Linked DNA regions of Homo sapiens: region 2 is linked to region 1. The links are contacts of gene promoters, found by promoter capture Hi-C in blood cells and fetal thymus (Javierre and others, 2016). All regions are on one chromosome and are shown on one strand. Each heading gives the region's core, a stretch centred on a gene start or on the middle of the fragment in contact. The rest is flanking DNA. Distances are from core to core; before and after follow the strand shown.

What was found. Contacts are between HindIII fragments. The CHiCAGO score rates a contact against its expected background, and 5 or more counts as called.
Region 2: the fragment with the promoter of RNF44 here is called in contact with the fragment with the promoter of DDX41 in region 1 in 1 of 17 cell types (fetal thymus); the score reaches 5.5 in fetal thymus.

The regions. Positions count from the first base shown.
Region 1 is chr5:177,514,236-177,518,229 of GRCh38, reverse strand. It overlaps DDX41 (DEAD-box helicase 41), which reads left to right and starts at 1,269. Exons shown (of 17, transcript NM_016222.4): 1 at 1,269-1,311; 2 at 1,395-1,505; 3 at 1,783-1,942; 4 at 2,037-2,111; 5 at 2,241-2,301; 6 at 2,409-2,545; 7 at 2,972-3,044; 8 at 3,161-3,314; 9 at 3,393-3,529. The coding sequence starts at 1,285. RefSeq lists enhancers at 905-1,174, 1,203-2,027. The HindIII fragment of the contact is 2,611 bases long and covers 129-2,739 here.
Region 2 is chr5:176,535,312-176,539,000 of GRCh38, reverse strand. It overlaps RNF44 (ring finger protein 44), which reads left to right and starts at 1,599. Exons shown (of 11, transcript NM_014901.5): 1 at 1,599-2,061. LOC124901143 (a long non-coding RNA gene) reads right to left here and starts at 1,072. Exons shown (of 2, transcript XR_007059071.1): 1 at 878-1,072. RefSeq lists enhancers at 606-785, 1,026-1,465 and silencers at 1,576-1,835, 1,916-2,105. The HindIII fragment of the contact is 3,937 bases long and covers 1-2,545 here.

The DNA.
Region 1 (3,994 bases), core at 20-2,519:
TTTATAGAGATGGGGTCTTGCTATGTTGTCCAAGCTGGTCTTGAACTCCTGGCTTCAAGCGATCCTCCTGCCTTGGCCTCCCAGAGAGCTGGGATTACAGGAATGAGCCACTGTGCCCAGCCTAAGCTTTCTTTACTAAAGAAGACTTCATGAATTCCTGTGTATCCTTCACATCCCAGCTAAGAGGCCATTGTACTGTGAAAACTATGACACTTCGAAAAGCGGTACCTTGTCTTAGGATCTTTCTCTTTAAGACCAGTTATCTGTCTATATTTCTAGTCTCAATCTACATAAGCTCCTCGCACACCAGGTATGTGTCTTGATTATCATCTGCTTGAGCGCAGTGCCAGCGCCCAGCACACACTCTTGAAGGCAAGAAAGCACAGAGCTGACCAAGTCATTCCTTAGAAGTCTCTAATAAAGTTGAAACCACTTACTCTGACAGTCACAGCAGGCATGCTCTGGTCGCAATCTCCTTTTCTGGCCTTAGGTCTGGCTTCCCCATCCCACCCTTGCCGCAATGCTGTTGCCTGGTGAATCTGTGTACTTGCACATCGCCAGACCTGTATTCCTGCAGCGCCCTGGCCCAGGACGCCTCTCCTCTCCCGGCCTGAGATTGCCACGCTTCCCTGGAAGCGCCCCCCAGGCAGCTCTGTTAGAGCATTTACAGTAATAACCGTTTACATTTATACAGGGCCTCCCACTTCAAAACCACTGCCATCCGTATCTGATGCGTGCCCCACCAGTGAACGTATGTGTCACACAGGCGCAGTCAGGGAGGCAGGGTGTGTCGAGCGGTTTATCCCGCAACCCCGGCGTCCCCGGCAGGGATGAAAGCGCAGGGCCCACGCGAACTCGGCCCGCAGCTCCCGGCCCTAGAGGACGCACTGTCCGCCGGCAGGGGCGTGCCCAAGACGCCATGCTCTGGGAGAGGTTGGGCACCTGGCAGGCCGCCCCGACTCCGGATCAGCTGTCTCCGCTGCGTACGTCTTCCTCTTCCAATGGGCTTGGATTGAGCCTTCTAGCGCATATTCCAAGTCCTCCAATGTCCCACAATGCCTTGCAGCCGGTTTCGCCCTCGGTCCTGGCAACTGTCGCGTAACCACCCATGAAAGCGTCCATGCCTCGCCGTGCGATAGTATCTCCGGAACAAATTTGTCCCTCTGCGCGATCCGGAACTCCGAGGTCGTTCCTACGCGCCGTCGTTCGCCTCTTCACATCGGATTGGGTCTCACGCAAGGATGAGGCGGGGTTTCGCCGTGGCGCGCATGCGTGCAGCAAAGAATGGAGGAGTCGGAACCCGAACGGAAGGTAGGAGAGAGGCGAGACCCCGCGCGTGTGGGAGCGGGCGTGAAGAGGGGAGCAGGCCGTGCCTGACTGGCGTGTGCTTGCAGCGGGCTCGCACCGACGAGGTGCCTGCCGGAGGAAGCCGCTCCGAGGCGGAAGATGAGGACGACGAGGACTACGTGCCCTATGTGCCGTTACGGCAGCGCCGGCAGCTACTGGTGAGGGGCACGCGTCCGGGGAGGGATGGGGCCGTGACCGCGGGGTCGCAGGGGGCGGGCGTGGCCTCGGCCTCCGTGGGGAGGAGGGCAGTCTGAGGAGTGAGCTTCAGTACACCAGGGCGCGGCCCCCAGACAAACGAGGGACCGACGGCTTGATCTGAGGGGTAGGGCAGCTTTGCGCCTCGGGCACAGGATCCTCGCCCCAAAGCCAGGATCCTGACGCTGACCTTGTGGACTCCATGCCCATCCTATCTGTGGATCCCGGGTGGAACCTCAGCTCCAGAAGCTGCTGCAGCGAAGACGCAAGGGAGCTGCGGAGGAAGAGCAGCAGGACAGCGGTAGTGAACCCCGGGGAGATGAGGACGACATCCCGCTAGGCCCTCAGTCCAACGTCAGCCTCCTGGATCAGCACCAGCACCTTAAAGAGAAGGCTGAAGGTGGGCTGGGCAGCACTGCCTGGGCGAGAAAGAAGAAGCTGAGCCTGGTACACCGTTTTGGTATCTGTCTGACATCTTCCACTTCTTTTCTCAGCGCGCAAAGAGTCTGCCAAGGAGAAGCAGCTGAAGGAAGAAGAGAAGATCCTGGAGAGTGTTGCCGAGGGCCGAGGTATGGTTGTAGCCAGGATAGTGAGAAGGTGGACTGAGTCTTCTCCTCCCAGCCCCAGGCATGTTATATCTCAAGGGATCTGGCTTCTCAGAAGCAGGAGCCAGCCCTGAGCCATGTCTCTCTCTTCAGCATTGATGTCAGTGAAGGAGATGGCTAAGGGCATTACGTATGATGACCCCATCAAAACCAGGTATGTCTGTACAGTCTGCAGTTGCCCTTGCTTAGGATGGTACATGCAGGGATGCTCCCAGGCCAGCTATTCCCAGGGCTCTCTTGATCCCTGTTACCCATCCACAGCTGGACTCCACCCCGTTATGTTCTGAGCATGTCTGAAGAGCGACATGAGCGCGTGCGGAAGAAATACCACATCCTGGTGGAGGGAGACGGTATCCCACCACCCATCAAGAGCTTCAAGGAAATGAAGTTTCCTGCAGGTAGTCAGGGGCTGGAGAGAGATACCACACTTTTATAATCAAATGCCTGTGAGGTTATGTCCTGGCTCCCACTGAGCTCAGCCACATCTGCATTGGATCCAGTCACTGGGGCTGGAGGGATTTGAGGAGGAGTTTCTTTAGGTTCCTTGTTGCCTCAGCTGTACGTGTTCATTGTTCTCTGCTGTTACAAAGCTTCAGGAGGAAAGTGCCATTGGGCATAGACACTGGGTACAAATCCTGGCTGCACCTAGCCTGTGGGCCTTGGACAAGTCTCTTTTTTTCTTTTTTTTTTTCCACTCTCTCTCTCTCTCTCTGAGCCTCAGTTTCATCATCTGCAACTTGTAGGGGTAGTGCCAGTTTTACAGGCTTTGGGGCTCTGAGAAAGTACCTGTGAGTCATGAAGACGATGTCGGTTGGTTTTCATAGCCATCCTGAGAGGCCTGAAGAAGAAAGGCATTCACCACCCAACACCCATTCAGATCCAGGGCATCCCCACCATGTGAGTGTGGACTGTGGACCTGGGGTCCTTGAGGAGGGCTGGAACAGGGAGGAGCAATGGCTAGGTGTCCTTCATCTTCTGTTGAAATTGGCCCTCGGGTCATCCTCTCCCAACAGTCTATCTGGCCGTGACATGATAGGCATCGCTTTCACGGGTTCAGGCAAGACACTGGTGTTCACGTTGCCCGTCATCATGTTCTGCCTGGAACAAGAGAAGAGGTTACCCTTCTCAAAGCGCGAGGGGCCCTATGGACTCATCATCTGCCCCTCGGTAAGATAGGCTGGCCTGGAGGGCAGGCCAGAGATTGGGGCTGCCATCTGGTGCCAGCCTTTGTCCCTCTGCCTGCAGCGGGAGCTGGCCCGGCAGACCCATGGCATCCTGGAGTACTACTGCCGCCTGCTGCAGGAGGACAGCTCACCACTCCTGCGCTGCGCCCTCTGCATTGGGGGCATGTCCGTGAAAGAGCAGATGGAGACCATCCGACAGTGAGTGCTGGCGCTCCCTGCCCCCCACCTCTGCCACCTGCGAGTCTGTGGAAAAGCTAAAGGACCCTTTACCTTAGCCACTCCACAGATCTTCACAGAGGGCTGCTGTGAGTGCGACCCTCAAGGAGCTCCCAGTCTAATGGGGAGGTTAGTTGGGGGAGGACAGAGGGATGTGGCCAGGTACTGTGGGAGCACGGCAGATGGAATGGCCCACCTTGCTGGGGACATCTGGGAGGTGGGAGCTCAGAGAAGGCTTTTCCGGGAAGGTGACATTTGAATTGGGAAGAGGGGCAGTCCAGGCTGAAAGCACAGAGGCGGACGGCCCAGGAAGGTCAGGGTCATTCAGTGGTCAGTCAAGGAGGTTGAGGCACTGGGGTAGGGCTGGATCCCAGCGGCACCTGTGTCCTTTCAGTGCTGTGCAGTCCTCTGCAGACCACCAGAGGCCCTGGACCAGGCCCTCTGTTC
Region 2 (3,689 bases), core at 350-2,849, 980 kb after region 1:
CTTTCTTTAAAAATTTCAGTGGGTTATAATGCATAGGGTTTTTAAAAAAGAGCTAATGTGCAATATATACAATAGTCTATCCTACTGACCCAACTTCTCCCTTCCAGTTCTCCCTAAGGACAATTGTTAATCAGTTTCCTGTATACCCTTCCAGAAATATATGCAGATGTGGCATATGTCCAATTAAAGAAACCTGATACATACTGTTAGAACTGTTCAGCATCTTGGTTTCAATTTTTATATAAAATTTAGGATTACGAAATATACCAAAGCAGCATAGAAAATGAGCCCCCCATCCCCCTGCCCCATGGCCCACCACACAGGTTAACAGATGTTAACATTTTGCATTGGCGCCTTGTTTATGGCTGTCTTGGAGATAGCCCCGTGTCGCCTCCAGCTGCCTCTTTGTGGTAACTGCCCAAGAGTCGTTATTGATTATATGCATGCACCCAATATTCATTATTCGACCTGTTCCAGCTCTTGGATATTTAGCAAATTACTGATTTTCTGCTTATATAATTGTGGTGGAGGTAATACCCCATTTTGTATAAATTTTGCCCGGGTGGGTGGGCTTCGAGGCAAAGGAGAACGAGGCTCGGCTTTGGATTAGGTTCACACTCCTGCTCCGCCACACTTCTAGTTGTGTGATCTGGAGTAAGGGAAGGCCCTCACTTTCCCCATCTGTAAAATGAACTGGCTATAGTAATCCCTCCGTCTCATAGCTGCTGAGAGGAATAGAAAACTAAAGTATAGACGCTTCACTGGGCTTAGTTCCCAGTTTCCCTGGCTAGGGAGGTCTCCGCGGGGACACCAAACTCTCAAGCCCAGCCTAGCAGCTAGAGCGCCCAGCGCCTGCACTTTTGCTTTAAACTACAACCTGTTCCCCGCCTCTCTTCCTCCACCGCCACGCTGGGGGCGTGGCGGTTAAATGTCTCTGTGACGTCAGCGCGAGCAGGGCCAATCTCCTTGCCCGGCAGACGTTAGCTCGTTTGCATGGGTGGTCCGCCATTGGTCTGTTGGGCAATCTGGGCCGTACCAGCTTTTTAAAGACGCCGTGTAGTATAAACAAGGAGAAGTGGGGCGGCCGGGCCATGATGTCAGCGCGGTGCTGCAGCTCTTGGGGGTGACGTCATCTCCGGGAAGGTGGCCGGCCCAGGGTTGTTAGAGCCAGCATAACCACTTGGGCCGCTCTCGCCCCGTCAGAGGTCAGACCCATTGCACTTCAGTATCTCAGGCGGCACCCTGTCCCCGAGGAGGGGACCATGACACAGTAAGTCCGTACTGCCGGTTCTCCTGGCGGGACCCATTTCTTCGGCAGGGAAACTGAGCCTCAGAGGCGCGAGTAGTTAGCGAGTTTGCATAGCAAGTTCGAGTTGCAGCCGATCGGTTTTGCCCACCCTGGGGTCTCCCCATCTTTATGTCAGGATATGCGGCCCCGCCCCTTGCTTTTGACTATGGCTGCGGTCCCTTTAAGTGCGAAGGTGGGGGCGAGGAGGAGGTTAAAAAAATTCAAGATGGTGGCCCACTAGTCACGTGCGTGGTCGCGGCGAGTGATTGGCTCTCAGGGCGGAGCTCCCGGCGCGGGGCGGGGCCCCTGCGGGCTTGCAGCGGGCTACTGTTTGCCGGAGCCTCCCGGCGCGCCCCCGCGAGCCCCCTCCCGTCTGGCGCGCGACCCCGCCGCTTCGAATGTTGTGAATCAAATGTGGGGTTTGTTACATTCCGCTGCCGCCGCGGACAGTTCTTAAAGGGCCAGCCGCCGGCTGCCGCGCAGACCCAGCTGCGTCCTGCGCCGCCTCCCGCTCCCTGAGGGCCTGGGCCGAGAGAGACTGATCGCGCGTGGGCCTCGCGAGGCAGACGCCGTCGGGCGGACAACAAAGAGAGAGGCCCCGGAAGGAGCCGGGCTGCCCCCGGACCCGGGGGTGGGGAGGGGAGCACATTGTTCCGCAGGGCGGGAGCTCTTAAAGGATCCAGACAGGCACCCCCCCCCTCCCCCGCCCCCTGCCCAGTTTGGCCGTCCTAGATCGGGAACAAAGGAGTCAACGTGTGGCCGGGCGGCCAAAGGTGAGTCGGTGCCAGGGCCCCCAACTTCCTATTCCCCCACCCATGGACCTTCTGTTCCCCTCCCCTGGGAATGGGGGCCGTGATCTAGGTGGCTCCGTAGGGGTTAATCACGGGCGGTCCAGACTGCGGGCAGCGAGACCCCAGGGATCAGGAACCCCCCCCAAGGCCCCCCGTGGCCGGGCCGTATCTCCCCTCTCCTGCAGCTGAGCGCTGCGGTTGGAGAGGAAGGAGCCGCCCCCCTCCCCCTGCGGCCGCCACTTCCTTTGTTGTTGCTTTTGTCTCACGCCGAGCACATGGTCCGGGATCCTCGGCTCTTAAAGTCGCAGCGTTCTGGCCCCTGCGCTGCAGTCTCGCCTCCCGCCCCCGGTGTCCCTCCGAGAGCGGCGCAAAAGAGTAGGAAGCGGACGAGGGAGGCCCCTCTCGGGGCTGTGTCCGCGCCTCGGCCCCCCAGCACTATGCCTGGGGAGGGGTGGCTGGGTAAGCTTCCCAGAGCCCCACAGCGTGCACTTGGCCCGCGTTGGGGAGCCCCCCCTTCCCCAGGACCCTGGTTTCCTCCCCCACTAGTGTGACCACCTGGTTTCTTCTGGACTCTTCTGGTTTTATTTGGGCGCTGTGGGAAGGAAAGATTTCCACCCCCATTTTATAGCTGTGCCAACTGAGGCGCTCAGAAGCAAAGGGATTTCCTTGACCAAGGTCACTAGGGAGTCTTCTCTCCTAGTCTGGTGGTCCGGCCCTCAGCGGCCTCCAGGCACCACACGTTGGGAAGCTCTGCTTGCGCTGGGCAGAGCCTGCTTGTTTCGGGTGGGGTGTGGGGAAGTAGGAAGGGGGGCTTCTCTTCCTGGCTGAGTCTGCTCATGCCCCCAGGGTCTGACTTTGTTTTTATCTGCAAAAGGGAGTGTCTCTTCCTGCAAACAGATCCCTGGGGCTCTTAGACCAAGGTCAGGGTAGGTGCTTGGGGCACTGGACTTAAGGGGTTGGCCGGCTCTCATGGGTGGGTGTGGGGGGTTATGTTAACTGCAAAATGCATTGCGTGCCTGGGGCGGACGGGGCTCAGCGACGGGACTCTCAAGACCCGTTCACACAGAGCTCCGTGATAGGACAGCATGGAGATGTGGACGGGCAGAGCAGTTGTTAGGGGAGGCCACCTGGCCACCCTTGCTATTTGACCTTGAGCAAGTTGCTAGCTCCAACTCTGGGCCTTGCTTGCTTCTCTGTACTACAGAGCTAAAGATGGGTGCCTGAAAGAGAGTGCTCTCCCAGCCTCCTGTATGGCTTGGAGACTCGGGATTAGGTGATTTCCTCCAGCTACTGATGCCACAGGAGTTATGGCTTGGGGGAGTTTGGGCCTAGGAGGCCAACTAGGACCAATTCCGTTCTCTCTGGTCTTGTGGCCTAGAGTAACTTACTTCCTTTCTCTCGGCTCCAGTTTTCTCAGCCATGAAGTGGGTGTAACCCTTCTACGCCACCCCTGTTCCTGGCAGGGCTTAAAGAACCAGGATCCACTCTTACCAGCTGAGGTATTCCCCTAGAGTGGCATATCTGCCTGCTGCCCCGGAAGTGGCACCCTTCAAGCTCTGCTTGAGGTTGGAAATGGAGGTCAGCGTGTCGTATTCGCTAATAATGATCAT